Regions from separate parts of the Homo sapiens genome. Here region 2 is linked to region 1. The links are contacts of gene promoters, found by promoter capture Hi-C in human tissues and cell types (Jung and others, 2019). All regions are on one chromosome and are shown on one strand. The core of a region is centred on a gene start or on the middle of the fragment in contact, and the rest is flanking DNA. Distances in the headings are between cores, read along the strand shown. Region 1 holds the start of EIF4EBP3 (eukaryotic translation initiation factor 4E binding protein 3). Region 2 overlaps LOC105378198 (a long non-coding RNA gene).

Region 1 (6,810 bases), core at 2,853-5,352:
GGGAACAAGAGTTGAATTCAGCTCCTATTAGTGAACAACCTGATTTTCTGTATCTCCATGCCATTCAGAGCAGAAGCTGCTGATTTTATTCTCAGGAAATTTATATTGTGCCCAGTTAGGGAGAAAGAAACCTCTTCTAGCTATAGTGTTTTCTTAGTTCTTAGAAAAAGAGATCTGAAGAATGTCTTAAAAGAAAGGGAAAGTAGCATGGTCATTTCACCTCTTTGGCGCTTAGTTTTCTTTTTGTGAAGTAACGCTACAGGATGAGCTTCTGAGAGTCTGAGAAGCCCCTGAAATTTTAGAATTCTAGTCATAGTAGGAGGTGGGTTAGGAAGACTGGTGGTGGGAAGATGAGAGAATTCCTGTTTAATGACCTCTACTTTTCAATGAAACATCAGGCAGTGTCAGAAGAAGACAGCAGGGAAAGGAAGGTTTCATCAGTTTCTCAGTGGGGCCTCTAATCTTTGGGTAAAGAACCAGAATTCTAAAGTGTGGGCCAGAGAAAGCAGGTGCTTCCTATGTGGTGCTGTCTTCCCCTCTCCTCCCCTCATTGGGCTGGCAGCACTGAATTGGAGGGGGGCTTCTGTCTCTTAGAAGCAGGTATGTGATGACATCAGCCGACGCCTGGCACTGCTGCAGGAACAGTGGGCTGGAGGAAAGTTGTCAATACCTGTAAAGAAGAGAATGGCTCTACTGGTGCAAGGTATGGGTGGGTTCTTTGGTATAGCCTAAATCCCTTTCCTGCTGTGGTTGGCTATGCTGGAGCAGGTGCTGAGATTTTGATTGACTGGGAGGGGAGGCATGGAAGCTCTTGTACCACAGGCTGCTTGCTCAACCCCCGTCTCTCTTCAGAGCTTTCAAGCCACCGGTGGGACGCAGCAGATGACATCCACCGCTCCCTCATGGTTGACCATGTGACTGAGGTCAGTCAGTGGATGGTAGGAGTTAAAAGATTAATTGCAGAAAAGAGGAGTCTGTTTTCAGAGGAGGCAGCCAATGAAGAGAAATCTGCAGCCACAGCTGAGAAGAACCATACCATACCAGGCTTCCAGCAGGCTTCATAATCCTCGGTTCCCCAGACTCACCGGACACCATCTCCTATGCCTTGGAGACCTTCTGTCACTTGGCTCCCTTCTTACCACCACCAAGACTGTCCCACTGGGCCTGACCCACCTATGAGGGAAGAAGTCCCACCTGGGCCAGAGGGAGTTCATGTGTTACTCATAACATGCATTTCAATAAAAACATCTCTGCGGTGGGCCTTGGGTAGGAGAGATGAACCCTTCCGGTGCCAAGCTAGTCCCCTCTGGTGTCCTCGACTGCCCTGCTCCCTGTGTATCTGCAAACCTCTGTTCTCCCTTCTCCATTCATCAGGAAGGGATCTGCTGGGTAAAGTCAGACTACTGCCTACCACTTTTTCCCAAAGTAGACTGAAAGCACATCCTGTGCTGGGCGGAGCAGCTGTGTTTGGATGGTTTCATTTCAGCATGAGAACAGACTCAAATAGAACGGGGAGACTTTTCCCTCAACAAAAGGAAAGACAGTCCTATTTGCACTGTATCACCCTTGAGATACTACTGTTACAGAGATTAGAACCACATTGAGTGGGGTTTTCTGTGTAAATCGAAGGAGAAAAAGACCAGATTACTGAGATTGGGGATTGTAACTCTGACTTGCCAAACAAACTGCTGCCTCATTTTGGGTTTCAGTGTGAACTCTAAGGTCTCTTGTAACCCTTTGAGAGAGGTACTTGGTGGACTATCATGCTGTGAGAAGGGTACAAGGTTTTTGGTGTTGGAATAGAGGAACTGGTGCTTAGAGGTGGGAAGCAGAAAAGGCACAGGGAGAGACAGGATGGCTATAGGCTGGGACAGCACCTCTTTTCCAAGAGTCCTGCTTTGGAATGGATAGGGGAGGGGCTGCTGGGGGGCCCTGGTTCCAGGAAGGCTGCTTCCTGGGAAGACAGGAACAGCCCTTGGCAGTGGCCAAGCTATTGCTGTTTATGGTTTGGAGGCTCATGTAACCTGCCACTGTAGCGTGCCTCAGGTTCTAATTGCTGCTGGAAGTGGGCCTGGTGGGAGCTGGGAATGATCTGAGGCCTCTGAGCTTAACCAGGCCTGCCAGGGCCTTCAGCTGTGTGGCTGAGATGAGAAAATCAGCATTGAGGAGAACACTGGAGCCAAGGCATTTCTTTGAATGTTTACTAAGCAGTCAGAAGGTGACTTACTCCATTCCCCAGTTCCAGCCCCTGAGCATAGAGGGTTTAGGGTTAGGAGGAGTACCACAGACTGAAGAGGAAGTAGAGTTAAGGGCTTGGCAAGTTGCCCACTCCTATCCCTGGTCTAGCTGCCTCAGAACTAAAGGAGGCCTGGAACTAACAAGTCACTCCCTTCCAGATTAGATGAGGCCAGCTGGCCTTTGGATGCCCCAGGAAGAGGTGGTGGCAGCAGTGGCATGAGGGATCCCTCTGTAACTCCACATGCCAGGTCATCTGCACTGGATTAGATGTCCATTTCAAATTGTGCGTCATCTGGAGAGAGAAAAGGCAGGAAGACAGGTTGCTGGTCTGAGGATCTGCAGGCTCAGCATCAGTGCAGAAACCCCTCTTGGAACTGAACCCCCGCACTGTGTCACAGTGGCATTTGAACTCAAAGGCTGGGACAATTCTTAATTCCTGCTTTCCTTACCGGGTATCTCTTCCTCTGTCTCCTGCTCCTTCAGCTCCTCCAGCTTGGAGAGAGGGGCTGTTGGAGGAGTTGTGACCCCGGGAATCTGAGGGAGGCAGCAGGGGGGTGTCCGGGCAATGGGTGAGTTCTTGCACTCCAGCAGGAACTTTCGGTCGTAGATGATCCTGGTGCCTGTCAAGGGGTTGGGACTGAGGTAAGAGTCAGGAGCTTGGGTACCGAGGTGACTGGGGTCCCAGACTCAGGCCTTTTGGGGCCTGGAGGTGAGGGTGGTGTCAAATTTCCCTGTGTATCAAAGGACATCGGCTCTGAAGCCCAGCTAGGTTCTCAGCAGACAAGCCTTCATAGTGCTTAAAATCTTCCAGACCTAACCAAGATGTGGGTATAAAGCAAGGGGGGCATCCCAGCTGGTATAGGCAGGGGCTTTATGTTTGGGAGAGCTTCAGATCTTGGCTCTAAGAGGAACACCAAACTTTGAGTTCAGGTACTTCATGCTGCTCCTCTACCACTCTGAAACCTCTGCTTTGGTCTCACCAGTGAAGGTGAGACCTAGACTAACAGCCTCAGGTGGTTCAAGAAGTGAAATAGCAGTTGTGAAGGGTTCCACCCAGTGCTGTTACCTGGGCTATCTCCTGCAGGGAGGAGAAACGTACTGTTCTAATCCTGACCCCTCCCAGGTCCTATAAGGTTCACACTAGCTCAGAGGAACTTGGCCCGCATAATGTCCTCAAAGGGTCCTGCCCTGTTCCTCCCCTCCGCTTCCGCGTGGCAGGAATCCCTGGGTCGGGAGCCCAGCAGCTCGTGATCCCAGGCTGCTCGCCCAACCAAACAGACGCCAGCCAGCAGCACAAAAACGGAGCAACTGCCCCAACTGTTCTAACTACTCCACTTCTCAAGACCCGGTGCTTCCGGCTGAGGTCACGCTCAGTAGGGGGCCCTGGCCCCTATTCCTAGGAAGCAAAGTCGCGAGGGGTAAGGAGCGTGTGTAAGGCTCCAAGAACCCAGGCCACAGTGAAGGATTACAGCCCAAACACCCGGAAGCTAGGCTCATGGCCTTGTTGCATCACTTAGAAGTTTTTGGGAACTGAGCTTCCGCTCCAAACATTCTCCCCCAAAGCTACAACCTGTAGAGGGGCCTGCGGACAAGTCTTAGGTCTGTCCCTCCCCTACCCCCGCCCCGCAACAACACGCACGCGCTAATATGTCCGCAGCCTGCGGACCCCTGCCCGGCCCGCTGACCTCCGGGGGTAGTGGCGTATAGCGTGCCCCCCGGCGTGGTGCTGTAGCAGTCGGGCAGCTGGTCCCGGCCCCCGGGAATCGGGCAGCTAGTGGACGTTGACATAGCGAGCGGGAGGAGCAGCAAAGTAACCGCCTGGCGTTGAGGTCGAGGAGCGCAGCTCTGAGTCTGAGGCGGACTCAGCCGACCACGTGCAGCTGCTGGCAACAACACTAGAACAACGTCACGCCCAGGGCGGGCCACCGGCCGTCACTCAACCCGACGGTCCCGCCCTATCTGCTAGGAAGCCAGCCCGGTTCAGAGAAAGCTGGAAATGCGTCCAAAGTCCCAGGCCCCACACCAGCTTCCAGTTCCTGCTGGCCCAGCGCTGGCCAACCTGCCTGAGTGCTGCAGCAGCTCAGCTATTTACTGTTTATAGCCGGGAGCTGGGGGCAGGTGAAGTAGGGCAAGCGTTTTTATCCTGTATTAGTTCACCCATTCCTTGCCAACTTTTGGATAGTAAAGCACTATGATTAGCCAAAGTCACACATCTTGCAGGAAGGGAAGCTGGGATTCAAATCTGACTGCATCTGATTCCAGGACTGTGCCCTTAAGCCCAGCTGTGTACTGCCTCCCATAAACAGTAACAGTACAAGGCCGGGTGCGGTGGCTCACGGCCTGTAATCCCAGCACTTTGGGAGGCTAAGGCGGGTGGATAGCTTGAGCCCAGGAGTCTGAGACCAGCCTGGGCAACATGGTGAAACCTAGACTCTACTAAAAATACAAAAATTAGCCGGGTGCGGCAGCATGCGCCTGTAGACCCAGCTACTCGGGAAGCTGAGGTGGAAGGATAGGTTGAACCCAGGAGGCGGAGGTTGCAGTGAGCGGAGATTGCACCACTGCACTCCAGCCTGGGTGACACATGCCTTGATGGCCTGGAGCACAGCAGGAAGGGGAAGGTCAGTGAGGGCTGGTCATCTTTCTGAAGAAGTGGTACCTGGACTAATAAAAGGATGAGTCAAGTTTGGGGGCTACAGCTGAGGCATCACCAGTCAGAAGGCCTGCCCTTTGATCTCTTTGCCAGTTAACTAAGGAGGGGCAGGGGGCTAGTGAGGAGGGCTTGGTCTTTAGAAGGAAAGAAAGGTCAGAGAGTTTGGCCTTGGAGTTTTTTTTTTGTTTTTTTTTTTTATGTAGACACAGTGATATGACAGGCTGGAGCAAGGTGGTGGGATTGGTGAAGATGTATATATGCTGGAAATCTTGAATTCATCAGGCTGTCCTGTTTGGCTTCCTCAAAATCAATACTGCCTCCACTGTCCCTTCCCCTCACCAAAAATTAAGTATAGACCACCTGACTGCATCCATTTATCAATATTAACTCAGCTCTGGCTTCATCAGATTTCTCCTTAGGTCTGATTTCTTCACTCATTTAAAAAAAGATTGCTTCTCAAACTATTTATTTTCTGAGATAGGGTTTTGCTCTGCTGCCTAGGCTGGAATGCAGTGGTGTAATCTCAGCTCAATGCAAACTCTGCCTCCTGGGTTCAGGCCATCCTCCCACCTCAGCCTCCTGAGTAGCTGGGACCACAGGTGCCCACCACCACACCGGGCTAATTTTTGGATTTTTTATAGAGACAAGGTTTCACCATGTTGCCCAGGCTGGTCTCGAATTCCTGAGCTCAAGTAACCTATCTGCCTCGGCCTCCCAAAGTGCTGGTGTGAGCCACCACACCTGGCCAGCTTCTCAAACTTTAATGTGCATATAAATCATCTGGAGATATTGTTAAAATGATAATTCTGATACAGTATTGGTCTGGGTGAGATTTTGGATTTTTTTTTTTTTTTGACACAGGGTCTCACTGTCACCCAAGCTGGAGTGTAGTGGTACAATCATGGCTCACTGCAGCCTCAACCTCCTGGGCTCAGGTGACCCTCCCACTTCAGTGTCCTCAATAGCTGGGACCACAGGTGCATGCCACTGTACCTGGCTAATTTTTAAATTTTTTGTAAAGGCGGGGTCTCACTATGTTGCCCAGGCTGGTCTCAAACTTGTGGGCCCAAGCGATCCTCCCAAACAGGCATCCTCCGAAACAAGAATTACAGGCATGAGCCACCGTGCCCAGCCAGTTGTGGATTTTTTTTTTTTTTTTTTGAGATGGAGTTTCGCTCTTGCCGCCCAAATGGCATGATCTTGGCTCACCGCAACCTCCGATTCCCGGGTTTAAGCGATTCTCCTGCCTCAGCCTCCTGAGTAGTTGGGATTACAGGCATGTACCACCACACCCAGCTAATTTTGTAATTTTAGTAGAAACAGAGTTTCTCCATGTTGGTCAGGCTGGTCTTGAACTCCCGACCTCAGGTGATCAGCCTGCCTCGGCCTCCCAAAGTGCTACGATTACAGGCATAAGCCACCACACCTGGCTGGTTTTTTTTTTTTTTTAAGATGGAGTCTTGCTCTGTCACCCAGGCTAGAGTTCAGTGGCATGATCTCAGCTCACTGCAACCTCTGCCTCCTGGGTTCAAGCGATTCTCCTGCCTCAGCCTCCTGAGTAGCTGGAATTACAGGAACCCACCACCGCACCGGGCTAATTTTTTGTATTTTTAGCAGACATCAGGTTTCACTATCTTGGCCAAGCTGGTCTCGAACTCCTGATCTCCAGTGATCTGCCTGGCTTGGCCTCCCAAAGTGCTGGAGTTACAGGCATGAGCCACCGGGCCTGACTGCAACTGTGAGTTTTTAATACAGTAATGCAAACGCTTCAGGGCCTCAGAAACACACTTCAGGTATCAAGGGTATGTATATTTTATTGTCCCGAAAAGGATTTTGAGTATCTTACAAAATGGTGCATGCCAAAATGAAGTGTCTTAGCAGTGCTGGAGGGTAAAGCTTGGGAACAGATTGTAGTGAAT
Region 2 (6,810 bases), core at 1,807-4,306, 190 kb before region 1:
GAAGTTCTGTTTCAAAATAGTTTCTTTTTCAAACCTTGTCAACTTGTCTTGGCAACCAGGGATTTGGTTCATATCTGGGAGAGATGACAGTAGTGAGAAGCTGCTCAGAGGAACTGTGGGGATCTGGAAATTTGGTGAAGAGCAGATTTACTCATGGAGTAGGTCTCAAAAGACTCTTACCAAGGCTAACCTCCAGAGTTTCTGTCCCAACCTTAAACCTCTTCAGCTCCTGACCCAGCCTAGTCTTCTCAGGAATCCATGCCGTTTTAGACCCCTCCTTGAAAAAGGGCTCTCTCCCATCTCCAAGAAAATGATAAGCTTGGTGGGGACATACATAGAGGACTAAAGAGGGTCCATGGACATCAAACCTGCCCCCAAAACACAGACAGGAAGAAGCATGCAAATATATCACTGAGATAATGCAGAAAGTAGATTGAATTTGGAGTTCCTTGACAGATAAGTGTCATGAGTTGGTATACCCTGGGCAGTAGGGTCAGCCTAGGCCTGAATGGTTCAAGAACGATGCTGAGTTTTAAGTTTCCTTCTACCCACCACAACTTCCAGACCAGGACACACAAACTTGGGAAGCCCCCATTTGAGGATGCACACCACTGAGAGAAACCCATGTCTTCCTTTCCCTAAAAACTGTTCCCCCAGCTGTGTCTAGGCTCACTCTCCCTCCTCCCACTCAGTGGCTACCTGCCACAAGTCTTGGACCAGCCTCAGTGCTTCCCAGATGACCAAACCGGGGTCATTTTAGCTCAAATCAACTTTCACAGCCAGTACATGAGTCAGACCCATGAAATCCTCCCAAACTGCCAAATGCCAGCCTTGGGTCTTTAAAGCTACCAGAGCTTCATTGTTACCTGGTTACTAGGTAATAACCCACAACAATTACTCCTCTCTGGATCTGGGCCTAAACATTCTGGTATCTTATAGCTCTTTTGTATTAATACTTTCTCTGATTACCTGAAATGATATACCACATAGAAAACTGTACTAAGAGTTATTGAAGAATGTGCAAAAAATTAACAAGAGGTCCAAGGAAAACTAAGCACATGAAGAAAAGTCAAGCATTAACTTCAGGAAAAGTAGAAAGAAGAAAAGGAGACAATCATGGTATATGACCATGTTCTGCTGGGAATTATATTTTGCAAAGGCATAAAAATGTTAACATGAATATTCATCTAACAAAGAATTGTTAGGGCCAGGCACAGTGGCTCACACCTATAATCCCAACACTTTGGGAGGCCGAGGTAGGAGGATGGCTTGAGCCCAGGAGTTCGAGATCATCCCATGCAACACAGTGAGACCTCATCGCGACTAAAAATAAAAAATTAGCTGGGCGTGTGGTATGTGCCTGTGGTCCCAGATTCTTGAGAGGTTGAGGCAGGAGGATCGCTTGAGCCCAGGAGGTGGAAGCTGCAGTGAGCCATGATCGCACCACTGCATTCCAGCCTGGGTGAGAGAGCAAGAGCCTGTCTCAATAAAAGAAAAAGAAAGAAAAGAAAAATTAAGTCATTTCAATCATATACAAACTATCCTAATTAATAAGAAGGAACACTTCCTAAATGATTTTCTAATGCTAAAATAACCTGATAGTGAATCCTATTGTAAAAAATACACACAAAAAAGGAAAAGCCCAGTCTAATGTCATTAATGTAAATAAATGAAAAAAAACCCATACTAATTATTAGAAAATTAAATCCAGTAGTACATAAAAAAGAATAATACAGCATAAGTAGAATTTCTCCAAGATATGAGGTTGACTTAACATTATAAAAGTAATTAGTATATATGCAAAGTTAATGAACTAAAGGGAAAATCATGATTATCTATGTACATGCAGAAAAATTACTTAATAAAATTCAACAACCTTTCATGATTTTAAAATAATCTTAATTAATCTTAAGATTTTTAGCAGATATTAGTTGTATCCTTAGGCATATAAGAGAATATTTGTAACTTGGTAAGGGTGTCCAGGGGAAAAAAAAAAAGCTAAAGCAAACATCATACTTAATGGTGAAATGATTAAAGCTTTCCCTTTGAAATCCAGAACAAGACAGGGATGTCTGCTATCATCACTTTAATCATCCTGTCGTCATTGTTCCAAAGGGCCTAACCAGTGTATACAACAAGAGAAAAATATAAAGGTCTGAGGTGTTCATATGGCATTCTCCATGGTTAGAAAAAGAAGGGGAAAAGTATAAGGAGGTTATTCCGTAGGATTTTGGGGAACAGGTGGTATTTGGTTACGTGAGTAAGTTCTTTAGTGGTGATTTGTGAGATATTGGTGTACCCGTCACCAGAGCAGTATACATTGAACTCAATTTGTAGTCTTTTATCCCTCACCCACTTCCCACCCTACACCCCTGAGTCCCCAAAGTGCACTGTATCATTCTTATGCCTTTGCAGCCTCATAGCTTAGCTCCCACTTATGAGTGAGAAGATACACCTTCTTATATGAAACTTTTTTATTTAGAGTTAAAACTCTGTATGTTTAGAGTTAATACGAGTATAAAACTCTCCTTATTTAGAGTTAATATGATTATAAACATTATAATATCCAGCAAATTTACAGAAAAACTAGTAGGTAATAAGAATAGCAAATTTTCTGAACATGGAAGTAAATATTCATGAAAGGTCATTTATAAGAAAAACAAACCTGACGCTTCATTATAAAAACAAATATTAATTACATCTCATGGGTCAGAAGTAAAATTTTTAAAAATAAAATAGGTTTTAAAATTTAAAAATATTAAATTGGCAGTGAGGGAGCAACTCACAAATTATTTTATAACGACAAATGTTATCATAAAGGCCCATGCTTAAGAATCAGGCTGAAAGTTGCTTGTTCTGGGCCAGGGGTGGTGGCTCACGCCTGTAATCCCAGCACTTTTGGAGGCCTAGGTGGGTGGATCACTTGAGGTCAGGCGTTCCAGACCAGCCTGGCCAACATGGTGAAACCCATTTCTACTAAAAATATAAAAATTAGCCAGGTGTGGTGGCCCACACCTGTAAGCCCAGCTACCAGGGAGGCTGAGGCAGGAGAATTGCTTGAACCCTCCAGGCGGAGGTTTCAGTGAACCAAGATCACACCACTGCACTCCAGCCTGGGCAACAGAGTAAGACTTTGTCTCAAAAAAGAAAAAAAAAAGTTAATTATTCTGCAGAACTTGGAGGTGATCCCAATGGTACCTCTGAGAAGCCACCCTGTCATTCTAAAAAGGATGAATACGATTAAGAAACATGTTCACCAGCCTGGGCAACATGGTGAAACTTTGTCTCTACTGATACAAAAATTAGCCGGGAGTGGTGGTGTGCACCTGTAATCCCACGAAACTGAGGCATGAGAATCACTTGAACCTGGGAGACAGAGGTTGCAGTGAGCTGAGATCGCACCACTGTACTCCAGCCTGGGCAGCAGAGTGAGACTCTGTCTCAAAAAAAAAAAAAAAGAGAGAGAGAGAGAAAGAAAGAAATATATTCAGAGGAATCCTATGAAGAAATAGAAAGTAAAACATCTAGTATTTCATCATTAATAGGTAATCATAGAGAAGAATAAAAAGAAGAATAAGGAAGGATATGAGGAGAATTGTTACTAAAGGAAATCTATGTTGTATTTTACTAATTGTTCATTTTGGGGCTTTTTTATTTTTATTTTTTTGTAGAGACGAGGTCTCACTATGTCACCCAAGATGGTCTCAAACTTCTGGCCTCAAGTGATCCTCCTACCTCGGCCTCCCAAAATGCTGGGATTATAGGTGTGAGCCACTGCACCTGGCCTCCTGTTCATTTGGATTTTCACTTCTCTGTTTTATTCTTCGTGCCTTCATCTTACTTTAATATTTTCTAAAATTCTATTTTGAGTTAATACTATGTTTTTTAGTGCATCTCTTTGTATAACATGTTAGCGGTTGCTCTGTCCACAACTTATCAAAGTCTATTCATTTTTTTCCGTCTAATTTCTCTCTGTTGTTTAGGTTGGATAATTTTTATTATTCTATCTTCTAGTTCACTTGTTATTTTTTCTGCCTCCTCCATTATGCTGCTGAACCCACCCACCCCATCCACTGAGGTTTTTATTTCAGTTATTATATTTTTCAGTTCTAAAATTTCCATTTAGTTCTTCTTTTATCATCTATTTCTTTGCTTATGCATTCTATTTTTCATTTATTCCAAGAATGTTTATAATTGCTTATTGAAGCATTTTTACAATGGCTAATTTAAAATTTCTGTCAGATAATTCTAATATCTCTGTCATCACAATGTTGGCATCTGTTGATTGTCATTTTTTCATTCTGTTTGAGATCTTCTGGTATGATAAGTAACTTTTCATTAAAACCTGGATATGTTCATATTATATTCCGCTACTCTGGATCCTATTTAAACCTTCTGTTTTAGTGGGATTTCTCTGATACCATTTAGGCAGAAGGGGGAACAGAGAAAGAAGGAGATGTCACCTAATTACTGCCAGGTGCAGGCAGAAGTCCAGGTTCCCCACAGAGCCTCCATTGCCACCTGAAGAAGGGAGCTCATTGTTACTGCTGGGTAAGCATGGAAGTTCTGGCTCCCCTGACACCACAGTGAGGATGGCCACATTACCACTGGGTAGAGGTCTAAGTCCAGTCTTCTCATATAATCCCCCCTGCTGGGAAGGGAAGTATTAACAAAAGATCATGAGATTTGAGGAAGAAGAAAAAAGAGAGTTTTATTTCCTATAAATGGTTACAATCTGCAGGTTGGGAAATGAAACATCCAGCCAAAATGAAAAGCATCTGCTTCAGAGACAAAAGGGAGAAGCTGGGACTTATGCCCAACAAGATGAGCTATATGTACATATTCAGTAGCTTATAGGAGAATCTATGAATATTTGAGAAAACCCTAATGCATGCAAAGAGAATAAACATATATGTTACATATGTTCCATGTTCATTTTGGGGTGGGGATTTAATAGTAAAGTGAAGTGGCACGTGGCTGTTTATATATAACAAGGTGAAACAGAACACAAAGGCATCTTGTGCACAGCCTCTGTGGACTAGGTGCAATCAGTCTGTGGTCGGTGGTCAGTATAACAATGGAATGTTTAATAAGGCTGGTCAGTAGTCATGGTGAAACCACGATAAAAGAGGGGAGGTCAGCCATGACATCAAGAGGTCTCTTGAGGTTGAGGGAGAAATCTTCCAGACAGTTTTTTAGGAACTCGTTTCTGTTTAATTGTAGGAAGGAAAGTTTTGAGGCAGTTAACAAGGTAGGGGAGTGTTGAGGTGTGACTGACCTCTTGCCTTGCCAAAGCCATAGAATGCAGTTTTCAAAGTTTCTGGGGTCTCTTTTGCAACAAGAAGTCCATTCTGTTTCACCTAGGGGCTTAGGGACTTTAGTTTTATTTCACACTTTCCAGCTTTAGGCTGAAATCTGCCATAGGCAGCATTGATGGCTAAATTTTCTAACATGTCCCATGTCGTTCCCAGGATGGTGTGGATACCTGCCCCAGGTCTATCTAGTCTGTCAGTGGGACTCATGTGGCTAGGAGACTTACAACCAGTTGAATATTTTAGGCCAGGCAAGAAGGAGGCAGACAGCTATTAAGACCCTTTGAACCTTTGAGACTAGAAAAACAGTAACAACAGAAAAGTTGAGAAGGTAAGTTTATGTTTATGTTGTCTGTCATTTCTATGCATTGTGCTACCATAACTTTGGTTTTAGTGACAGACTTGAAGTAGTTGGTTATAGATCTTATAAGTACTTTGACTATCAAAAATAGGAACAAGATAGTGATATGATAATGACAAGGGTTTGTAAGATGGATTGGAAGTAATTTCTAATACTGCAATGAGTCAGCTAAAAACGTTATTAAGGGGATCTGTGGTTTGTACCTCCTGTAACCAGGCAGCCTGTTGGGTGATCTTACCTACATGGGTTGTTAAATCTCCTATAATGTTGATATAAGTGCAACAAGTGGTGTGGGCTATCATGCAAATTCCCCCTTGTTTAGCAATGAGAAAACCTGGTGCAATTTGATTGTCTAAAACCACTTGAGCGAGAGAATTTAAGGACTTCTACTGTGTCATAATACTTATTGCAGCATTTTCAGCAATTTGTCCTATGGTGGCCGGCATTTTTTTTTATCGTATCTCTGTTAGTGTATACTCCGTAGCTGAGAAAAATTACACCCCAAAAACTATGCTACCACATATCCTGATATCCACTTGGTAGCTCTCTTTTAGCTTACCGGAAAGCAAGATTTTCTTTATGATTGAGATGGATGGAAAAGAGGGCAACGTAATGACCTAGAAGGCAAAGTCCTTCAACTTGCCAGCTGTTTATGCATCTGTGTGCCTCTTCTTGAACTGGGGGATCTGACTCAATTCTATATAGGAAAGTGTGTCCTCAAGGGGCACAAGTTATACCTCCAAGGGTATGCCAATTTATACGTTCATTTATGAACAAGATATCTATTATGTGAGTGAACCACGAACTGGTTTTGTTGCAAGCCTTCTAGAAGCCTGCAGAGGCATGATATCTAACAAAGAGGAGCTGTTGTCAGTGTTTGATATTTTTTCTTTGGGCATTCAGTGGTTATGTACAGTAGCAAGGGTGGGAGTCCCAGAATCTAAGGAGAAAGCTACATAGACATAAAAATCTTAATCTTTTTAAAACTCAGTTTTCTGGTTTGGTGCAGTGGCTCATACCTGTAATTCCAGCACTTTGGGAGGCTGAGGTGGGAGAATTGCTTGAGCCCAAGAGTTTGAGACCAGCCTGGGCAATATACTGAGACCTAATCTCTACAAAAACCTTTTCAAAAGAATA

The links. The method cuts DNA at HindIII sites, captures the fragments that hold promoters and counts their contacts. A contact is called where the count stands out against the background at its distance.
Region 2: a contact is called between a fragment that was not itself captured here and the fragment with the promoter of EIF4EBP3 in region 1, in 1 of the 25 tissues and cell types used here (psoas muscle).

Annotation. Positions count from the first base shown.
Region 1 is chr5:140,544,954-140,551,763 of GRCh38, reverse strand. EIF4EBP3 (eukaryotic translation initiation factor 4E binding protein 3) reads right to left here and starts at 4,102. Exons shown (of 3, transcript NM_003732.3): 1 at 3,924-4,102; 2 at 2,688-2,858; 3 at 2,188-2,530. The coding sequence starts at 4,026. The coding sequence ends at 2,502. ANKHD1-EIF4EBP3 (ANKHD1-EIF4EBP3 readthrough) reads right to left here. Exons shown (of 36, transcript NM_020690.6): 35 at 2,688-2,858; 36 at 2,188-2,530. The coding sequence ends at 2,527. SRA1 (steroid receptor RNA activator 1) reads left to right here. Exons shown (of 5, transcript NM_001035235.4): 4 at 595-703; 5 at 853-1,696. The coding sequence ends at 1,064. RefSeq lists enhancers at 3,032-3,739, 3,890-3,979, 3,740-4,446, 4,447-5,155. The HindIII fragment of the contact is 4,539 bases long and covers 3,160-6,810 here.
Region 2 is chr5:140,735,079-140,741,888 of GRCh38, reverse strand. All of the region lies in intron 3 of LOC105378198 (a long non-coding RNA gene), which reads right to left. Among named protein-coding and RNA genes, the nearest start is that of ZMAT2, 38 kb to the right of the region's middle. The HindIII fragment of the contact is 3,756 bases long and covers 1,179-4,934 here.